Linked DNA regions of Homo sapiens: region 1 is linked to region 2. The links are contacts of gene promoters, found by promoter capture Hi-C in blood cells and fetal thymus (Javierre and others, 2016). All regions are on one chromosome and are shown on one strand. The core of a region is centred on a gene start or on the middle of the fragment in contact, and the rest is flanking DNA. Distances in the headings are between cores, read along the strand shown.

What was found. Contacts are between HindIII fragments. The CHiCAGO score rates a contact against its expected background, and 5 or more counts as called.
Region 1: a fragment that was not itself captured here is called in contact with the fragment with the promoter of CELF3 in region 2 in 1 of 17 cell types (M1 macrophages); the score reaches 5.1 in M1 macrophages.

What each region holds. Positions count from the first base shown.
Region 1 is chr1:151,845,424-151,850,075 of GRCh38, reverse strand. It overlaps THEM5 (thioesterase superfamily member 5), which reads left to right. Exons shown (of 6, transcript NM_182578.4): 4 at 1,784-1,894; 5 at 2,214-2,338; 6 at 2,662-2,975. The coding sequence ends at 2,705. The region is part of intron 3 of C2CD4D-AS1 (C2CD4D and THEM5 antisense RNA 1); the gene reads right to left. Among named protein-coding and RNA genes, the nearest start is that of THEM5, 6.0 kb to the left of the region's middle. RefSeq lists an enhancer at 1,385-2,152. The HindIII fragment of the contact is 1,470 bases long and covers 810-2,279 here.
Region 2 is chr1:151,714,224-151,719,078 of GRCh38, reverse strand. It overlaps CELF3 (CUGBP Elav-like family member 3), which reads left to right and starts at 2,276. Exons shown (of 13, transcript NM_007185.7): 1 at 2,276-3,203; 2 at 4,403-4,485. The coding sequence starts at 3,059. It also overlaps a transcript of RIIAD1 not described here. RefSeq lists an enhancer at 2,052-2,346. The HindIII fragment of the contact is 2,919 bases long and covers 1,391-4,309 here.

The sequences.
Region 1 (4,652 bases), core at 295-2,794, 130 kb before region 2:
CCAAAGGAGTCCTCCACAGGGACACTGCTCCACACACTAGGCTGTGCAGATACTAGTGAATTGCTCAGAGCCCTGCCCAGGCCATGGACTCCCTCCTTTCTGAAGCATGGCTGACTTTTATTTAGGGGCTGATGGAAGTGAGGCCAAAGAGGCAGAGGAGGACCATCCAACACTAAGGCCAGTCAGTGGATTGAGGGGTTGGGGGTCTAGAGAAGAGATTAGTATCCACCAGGCCCCTAGACCATGGGGAGTGGGAAGGAGGAGTTACTCGTTGGCCAAGAGCTACTCTGTAGATCCACATACTGGCCAATGGGTCCCCAGGCTGGCCAGTGAGGACAAGGAGGAGAGAGTTGGTTTCGAGTTCTTTGACACCAACTCTTTTCACTCTCTTTCAAGCAATTTGGGAGGCAGACAGGGAAGTGCCTAAGAAGTGTGTAAATTATGTTTGCAAACATTTGTTTATTTAATCTGCTGAGATCAGAATTGTGAAATTCATGGTGGAAAAACTAAGGCTCAGAAAGGTTTAGCAATTTGCTCAAGATCAAACATGTAGTGAGCTGTGGGACAAGGAGTCCAACTGGGTGGATAGAGACTAAAGAAGCAGGGAGGGAAGGGTCTGGAAAAGCCACTGGTCACAGCAGCAGGAGGGTAACCCATGGCAGTACAGTGTGGACAGCTGATCTGGCTCTGTGGAGAATGGGCTGTGCTTTTGAAAATCAGGAACTCAAATCTGCTTGGTGTTATTTGAATTCTAAAATGGGTGCCTATTTTCCCAAATTAGCCAACCATGAAGTAGCTGACATAAAGCTTGCAAAAGCAAGAATGAACATTTTACGCTTTTTTTTTTTTTTTTAATTTTGAGACAGTCTTGATCTGTTGCCCAGGCTGGAATGCAGTGGCACAATCTCAGCTCACTGCAACCTCCACCCACCGGGTTCAATCGATTCTCATGTCTCAGCCTCTCGAGTAGCTGAGTTACAGGCGCTTGCCACCACACCCGTCTAATTTTTATATTTTTTAGTAGAGACGGAGTTTCACCATACTGGCCAAGCTGGTCTCGAACTCCTGACATCAAGTGATCTGCCCACCTCAGCCTCCCAAAGTGCTGGGATTACAGGCGTGAGCCACTGCGACTGGCCATTCTATGCATTCTAAATAAAGCAAATGTCTGCGGCATTTGAGCATTTCAGCTCAATTTCAGCATTGAGCCTGCTGAAGCAGGCGCTCTGCTTTCTGTGGCAACGCTGCTCAGAAGTGTGTCATGCCAGCCCTTGATAGGTCATAAGTTATGTTTCACATTTACTTATCTTGAGATGTGGGCCCCGCACTGGCTGTAGTGACTGGTAAGGTGAGAAACAGCCCAGGGTTGTGCCTCAAAGACTGAGTCAAAAAGTTCAGGGACTTTTTCATTTCCTGTATATGCCCATCCTTCCAAATTATGGCAATTATTGCCAGCAATTAGGTAATGAACCAGAAAAATGTTTTCTATTAACTTTATCAGAAAAAAACAATTTCCCTGATGAAATAAAATGTTGTATCATTGGCTGCAAACGCATGCTGAAGCAAAACAGAAAAGCTCAGTTGATTTTGACGGGTTTGATCAGATGGGATGCAGCTGTTTCCTTCTTTCCTATTTGGCTGCCCTGAGGCTGAACGTCTGTGTTTGGAAGGGTCTAGGGAAAGGGAAAGGTAGGATCACCACAGGAGGGAGGGAAGGCCCATTGAGGGGGTCTGCCCAGCAGCCCCAGCCCAGGCCTTGCTCCTCACCTTACCCCACCCCCAGGTTTGCTCACGGCGGGTCCCTGGCAGCCATGATGGACGAGACCTTTTCTAAAACTGCCTTCCTGGCTGGAGAGGGGCTGTTCACACTAAGTCTCAACATCAGGTTCAAAAAGTAAGTATGGGCCCCTGGGGCATTGGCCAAAGTCACAGACCTTTTCATCCCTGGAAGTGGCCATCCTCGGCAGCTGGGGTGTAGGAGCCCTGCCTGCCACTCTCCTTCCCCAGCCCACTCCCAAGCAATTCCTCTAGTCCCTGGCCAGGACACAGCCTCTGCTGTCCAACTTTGGGAGCTGACAAAAAGGCCCTGAGCCCAGGGCCACTTCTGAGTCCTCGAGGCCGGGAGGGATGAAGAGAGGGAAGAGGACACAGAGAGTGAAGGGATGGGGAACCGGGTTCACATGAGAGATGGGCTAAGCTGCCTCGTCTCCCAGCTTGATCCCCGTGGACTCTCTGGTTGTAATGGACGTAGAACTGGACAAGATTGAGGACCAGAAGCTTTACATGTCCTGCATCGCCCACAGCAGAGACCAGCAGACAGTTTATGCCAAGTCCTCAGGTAAAGGAGCCCCCAGCCCAGCCCCAGGCCCCGTCCCACCACCACCCACCCCCAGAACAAACAGGAGGAAGAAAAGATGCCAATGATTCATCCCAAGCTGCGGTCCAGCTTCTTTAGGGGTGGGATAGGGCACCTACTAGGGACACAGATGAAGCAAGGGAGAGCAGAACTAGGATTTTTTTTTCTATATATGAGTTATCCAACCTGTAACGAAAGGACAGGACCCAGGTAATGGGTAATTTGCAGCCAAATGCTCAGAGTGTCCATCAAGCTCCAGCCATCTCAGTGCAGCTCTTGCAGCTCAACTCACCCTTCTCTTGCAGGTGTTTTCCTTCAGCTGCAGTTGGAAGAAGAGTCTCCCCAGTAACAGTCACTGTGCCTGCAGGAGAGCCACTGCCTCCCCTGCCTGCCTCCTGCCTCCTGCCTCCCCTGCCTGCCTCCTGCCTCCTGCCTCCCCTGCCTGCCTCCTGCCTCCCCTGCCTGCCTCCTGCCTCCTGCCTCCCCTGCCTGCCTCCTGCCTCCTGCCTCCCCTGCCTGCCTGGGACCCATCAAAGAGCAGGGAGGGGTCCTCAAGCAGCAATTGGTGAGGCGAGGGAAAGGACCCTTTTCTCTGAGTAAATAAAGTCTCACAGTCCCATTCTCGGCCCAGGGCCTTTCTGTGGTTGGAAATCAAAATCCTTCCAGGGCATCTCACATACCCACCTTCCCATTCAGCACCGACTGAAAAGATTTACTGAGTACCCGCCAGGTGTCAGGCACTGTGTGAGGCACCAGGCACCCAGAAGTGAAAGACAGGGCCCCGGTCTCAAGATGCACAATGCGGGAGCCAGGTGCCAAGTCAGAGTGCCCTATCACGCTCCTCCCACACCCACCCTGGCTTCCATCATGAGTGCAGTGTCATCTCAGCGGGAGGAAGGGCTAATTTTACTCTACAAAAGCAATCAGAAAACATCTTCTAGAAGAAGCTCTTCCTGAACTGTCTCAAAAGTTAAGTGGTGTTCATTAGGCAGGCAGGGGAGAGGAGGATATCCCAGGCAGAAGGGAAGTAAGAAGTAAGACAAAGGTGCAGAGGTGTGAAAGTGTACAGGGACTTTGGAGAAGAGCAAGGTGTTGAGGAGGGCAGGCGTTTAGGGAAAGAGAAGGTGGGCAGGAGCAAACCACAGGAAGGCTTCATAATCCCTGATGGAGAGCTGGAACTTTGTCTTGCAGGCAACAGGGAGCCTCCAAAGGGCTTGGGCTGGGGAGTGACAGAGCTTTGTTATTTAGAAAGATGACTCAGTGGCAGTAAGGCGTCAGCAAGACTGAAGGCAGGAGTACTAGTTAGGAGATCCCCACAGGCTTTACACTAGAGACAGTAAGGGCCTGCAGGGGTCAGAGCTGCGAAGCTGAGAGATATGAGAAAATGTTACAAATACAGGAAGTGCAGGACTGTGCCACTAGTTATACAATGTGGATCTGTGAAGACGAGCTCCAAGTTTCTGGCTTATGAGTTTCCAGGTGGTTATCACTGGAAATACAGAAAGAGGTGGGGGTAAACAATGAGCTCAGTTTTACATGCATCGAGCTTGAAGTGCCCATGGAACTTGTACCATGTGGCAAGTGCCAGCAGGAACGTGGATATTGTGATATGGAGCTTGGAGAGATAAGCTACTGACTCAAATCGTGAGCCAATATAAAATGTGACATGAGGCCGGACACGGTGGCTCATGCCTGTAATCCCAGCACTTTGGGAGGCCGATGCGGGCTGATCACTTGAGTGATTCGAGAGTCGAGAGGCTGGTCGGGAGTTCGAGACCAGCCTGACCAACATGGAGAAACCCTATCTCTACTAAAAACACAAAAAATTAGCCGGGTGTGGTGGCGCATGCCTGTAATCCCAGCTACTCAGGAGGCTGAGGCAGGAGAATCACTTGAACCCGAGAGGCGGAGGTTGCAGTGAGCCGAGATCACACCATTGCACTCCAGCCTGGGCAACAAGAGCAAAACTCCGTCCCAAAAGAAAAAAAAATGTGACATGAAACCCCTGGGAATGCCTTACACAGAGTGGAAGTGAGAAGGAGGCAAGGGGAAAGACAGAGGTGAGGAGGGAGGGGGAAAGGGGAGGGAGGGAAGGAGAAGGAAAGAGGTCAAAAATAGAACCAGAACCTTATGTCACACTAAGGCTCAAAGTTGGGATAGAAAACCAAGGATCCACTAAAGAGGCTGAGAACAGAACAGGAGTGACCATCCTTAAGAGGAAGAGGTCAGCAGTATCAAATGCTGAAGAGAAGGCAAGGAAGATGCGAATTAAAAAGAAGCTTTTGAGCCAGGAGTG
Region 2 (4,855 bases), core at 1,027-3,526:
ACTGACTGGGAGGAGGAGTGAGGGGAGTTCATTTTAATTCATTTTTGTGAATGTTTAATATTTCAATTAATATGATTAGCCCCAAGCCTGAATGAGCAGCAGGGCGGCAGATCTGCTGAGAAGACATAGAGTAATGAGATCAACAGGGCCATAGGGTCTTCCCCTTCTCCATCCTCAGAGGACATGATCTGTTTAGCATCTCCATAAATACCAAGATCAGATTAGAAGGCAAGGAAAGGAGCAGTGGGGGTGGGGTAGGTGAGTGGAAAGTTACTTTCAAGATGTGTGTGCCCTTCTTGATTCCCTGGCTCTGCCGTCATTCGCTTCTTCTGAGCACCCACCACTGAGTCCTCTAGCACCTCCCCCCACTGCCACCCCATCTTAGGGGACCCTACTTGGGGGACCCGGGCATCCATGTGATGAAGTGTAATCAAGTCTACACACATACACATTCACTCAAATGCAAGCACCTGCCAGAGCGTGGCTCCAGGCCACAACAAAAAAACAGGCTAAGGAAGGATGGGAGGTGGTCCACAGAATCAAGCAGTAAAAAGAAAGACTCTCTCTCATCCAGGGCTTAAATGGAGACAGAAGAGGAAGAAAGGCCAGACTTCACCACTGCTCCCATTCTCAAGAGGAATGTTTGATGTGGGAGTTAAATGCGTGGACTCAGGAGCCAGACTGCCCAGGCTCCAGTCTCAGCTAGACCTCTTTCTAGCTGCATGGCTTTAGGCAAGTTATTTCAGCTCTGTGTCTTGGTTACCTCCTCTCTATTTGGAGATGACAAAATCTACATCATAGGGGGGTGGTGAGGGTTTAGGAGTTAGTAAATATAAAGCACTTGGCACAAAGCCTGGGACACTGTAAGAGCCATGTAAGCACTGGCTGTTACTATTATTTCCCTTCCAGAAGAGAAGCCTGCCTGCCGTGATAGCTCAGGAATGGAGGCCCCTGGGACTCAGCTGGGACACAGTTTAGAGACACGAGTGCCTCTGTGGAAACAGCAGCCCTACCCCGGGGGAGAAGAAGGGAATGACAGGAAGACAGGGTGCTCTACAAAAGCCCAGAGCCCCAGGAGAGCCCCCGTTGCTGAGCACTGACAGAAAGCAAGGGCTACCACCACTGACAAGGTTTGATGTCCACAGATAATCCCTGCACTGAGGGCGTGCTCTGAGTGGGCCCAGTGCATGGAGGGGTCACGCTCCCTCCAGATCGTGGAGCCTGCCAATCATCCATAGAAGTATCCATGGTCAGGGGAGCAATGGTCCCCGAATGTGCCTCCCCTGCTCTTCTGTGCTACCTGGCTCAATTTGAGTCCAACTCAAAGAACCCAACTGAAGAAAGAAGCAAAGGAAAGAGTAATTGGGTTTCTGCATCCTAAGGGGAAGCTTGACAGCTGTGGTTCTTCCCACTGAAGGAATCAGGAATCCACTGTTGTCAGAGGTTGTTTGCATGGAGTGTTTGTTAAGCTCCTGCTACGCATGAGCAAGACAGGGTGCTAGACACTGTGAACAGTAAGATGCTGAATTAAACGGTGTCCTGGTCTTCAAGGAGCTTACAAGTGAGAGCGCCCGCGGCGCCGCCTCCGCGGCCTCCCTGCCCACGCACTTATACACACAAACCCCCCAGAGGGAGAGAAGGGGGCATCGGCAAATGCCAGAAAGCTATCGTTTTTCTTGGTTCCTTTTCTGGAAAATATACAGTTCTCTTTCTGCATTCTTCTCATCCTGCTCCTCCTTCTCCACGTCCCTTTCCATTTTTCCTCTCTGCATTTTTTCTTTTTCCCCCAGACTCTGCGACCTGCTTCCCTCTCCATCTATATCTCCTTTCCCTTCAGCCTATGCAACCGTCCTTTCTCATTTTTCTTTCCCCTGATTTCTTTCCTTGACTCTCTACTCTTGGGGCTCCCCAGATGCCGGGCTCCCCTCTTTCCCCGCCACCCCCCATCTGCTGAGTCTTCCAGCACCGGGGACAGCTCCAGCCCCCGGAACAATGGACCCCACTTTAGGGTTCCTCTATAAATTCTCCATCTTAGTGCTTTGCCCAACTCCTGACTGGGGAGTAAGATGGGGGAAGGGTTATTATCAACAGGACCAGCTGCTCTTCTGGGGGCGGGAAGGGAGTCAGGGAGGATGGAGATAGAAAGAGGGCGTGGCTCGTGCCTGGATTGTGCGTCCCTCTCCAGGGTAGAGAATTTGTATTCGACCCCTGAGACTGACATCACTGATGTCAGGGGAAAGGAGGTGGGAGTGGGGAGGGGGGTGTGGAGGGGGGAGGTTTTTGTTGAGGAGAGCGCGGCCGGAGAGCAGAGCTCCGGGACCCAGGTGACCGGGAAAGCAGGCAGCCCCAGCGGCGGGAGCAGCCGGCAGCAGCCCAGGCCCGGGGACTGGGGTGGGGGTGGGAGGGGGGCTGAGGGGAGGACCTGAAGGGGGGCGGCAGGGCAAAAGGGACCCCTGGAGCCCTGCCGCCATCAGAGATCAAGCATCTGGCATCAGGGATCTTCGGACCCAGCAGAAGGATCCGCCACAGGGGAGGTGTCCTCCCAGGGAAGCCAACGAGAGATTCACCTGCCCCACATCAGGAGTGGGCCCCCCTTACTGACGCTGCTGGCAACCATAGCAGGCCCCTTAACCCCTCAGTCTCCTCCCCATCACCCTCCTCAGGCCCTTTCCCCGCCTCCAGCTCTCATCTCAACTCCCAGTTCCCAGCCCTCTAAGCCCTAGCACCCCCGGCTACCACCTAACCCTCCAGGTCTTGGCCATACTCACCCCCATCCTGGGACATTTGCCAGATCTCTGGGAGGGAGATCGTTTGTTTAGGCGATGCCCCCTGGTGGCATGACAGCGTCTGCCTAGACCCCTGACCCCTAGCACTCAACTCCCTGGGCCTCCTTTGTGTGAAGAGCCGCCCCTCTGCTTAGCAGCGTGGTTGGGGGCCAAAGGGAAAGCCAGCCCCAGCTGGGCCCCCGGGCCCCACCACTTATCTCCTTGCTGGGCAGCTCCCCTTGGCCTTTGGGCCTCTCCCTGCTCCCCTCGGCCCCTCCTCCTGGGCCGCCTCAATGAAGGAGCCGGATGCCATCAAGCTGTTTGTGGGGCAGATCCCGAGGCATCTGGAGGAGAAGGACCTGAAGCCCATCTTCGAACAGTTTGGTCGGATCTTTGAGCTGACTGTCATCAAGGACAAGTACACCGGGCTGCACAAGGGTGAGGGGTCGGGCAGGCTGAAGAGGCTTCGGGGTGGGCTGGGAGGCTGGGGGAAGTTAAGCCAGGCTGGAGGGGTGGAGCGGCTGGGAAGGGCTGATGTGGAAGGAGAAGAGTTCAGGCCTGAGGAAAGTGGATGGAGGAGCTGAAAAAGAACTCAGCTAGAGTGATCAGGAAACCCCGGTGAAGGACTAAGGAGGGCCTCTTTTGGCTGAAGAGTTGTCAAGACGGCTGCAAAGATGTGGATCCCAGACATATGGGTGTGTTGATGTCATGGGATGAACTCAAGAAAGAATGGAGGGACAAGAGAGCTGGTTTGGGAGATAAGCAGCTGGGTAGGGGTGTGTGTGTGTGTGCGTGTGCAGCAAGACTGAGAATCTGAGCAGCCTCAGATAATATTGGGATGGGGGTCAGGACACAGGGTCAGGTGTTCAATGTGGAAAGCGTGGAGCTGGACTGGGCAGGGCAGCTCCAGGACTAAAGAGAGGGACTAGGAAGCAGGGCATGAAGGCTGGAGATTGGTAAAGATCTGGAAAGTGTGGGAGGCTTAGAAAGTTAAGAGAGTGGGGGAGAAGGGAGGGTGCTCCTCAGGCCTATCCAAGGGCTGTGCGGCTAAGTGGGGGCGGTCAGGGTCAGCACTTGGAGAGCTCCACACACCGGGGATCCCAGGGGCCACACCAGCTCCCCCTCCACCTGGCACAGGGAAGAGGCACTTCCGGCTAACTAACTGTTCTTCCCTTCCCTTCTCTATTTCACTCTCCGTCCTCCACCTGCCTATGGTGGAGGTGGGGAGAGATGAGGAAATAGGGAAAATGGGAGAAGAGAGGGATGATGGTGATCAAGATGGAGGGAGGTGGAGGTGAGGGAGAGAGGGGAAAGGAGAACAGCTCAGCAGGAGAGAAAGCCACACTACTCTTACTTGTCTGGCGGTCACATGGTCCTTCTCTCCCTACACAAAGCCCATCTCCTGACAGCCCAAGTGTCCTCCCTCTCCCATCACCACCAGTATTTAGGCCTCCAGGTGTCTGCCCCACTTCTGGGGCAGAGAGTCTACCCCTTGGAGACACCTCTCTACCCCAGCAGGCAGAAGATGACAAGAAGGGAAAGCTTCCCAGTCGTCAGTCTTTGGAAGGGAGCCTTTCAGAGAGGGGAGATGGAGGACTCACCCCCCGCCGTGTTTCTCTGCCCCTGCCCCTCCTCAGGATGTGCCTTCCTGACATACTGTGCCCGGGATTCAGCCCTGAAGGCCCAGAGCGCCCTGCACGAACAGAAGACGCTTCCAGGGGTGAGTCCTGCCCTTTGCAGGGCCAGGGGACTGAGAAGGGCCATAGAAGTGGCAGGAGGCTCACCACCCTCCTGACACTGAGCATAATTTCCACCTCCTCTCATCACCAGGAAGTCCCCCTCTCTCTCTGTAGCATCCATCTTTCTTGCTGTAGATGCATGCATTTCTTGTTACCTGGAGAGAAGGAAAGCAGCGATTAGTGGCGTAAACATGACTTTTACCAGGAGCAGATGCAGCCCCTTCCCCACTTCCCAAGCTGCCCATGGGGCAACACTAGAGGGAGGACTCGCTGGTTGGAAGGTGTGGGGAAAAGTCTCTGGACACCAAGTGTGGATCAGGGTGAGCAGGGGGCACCCAGGCACTCTTTTGT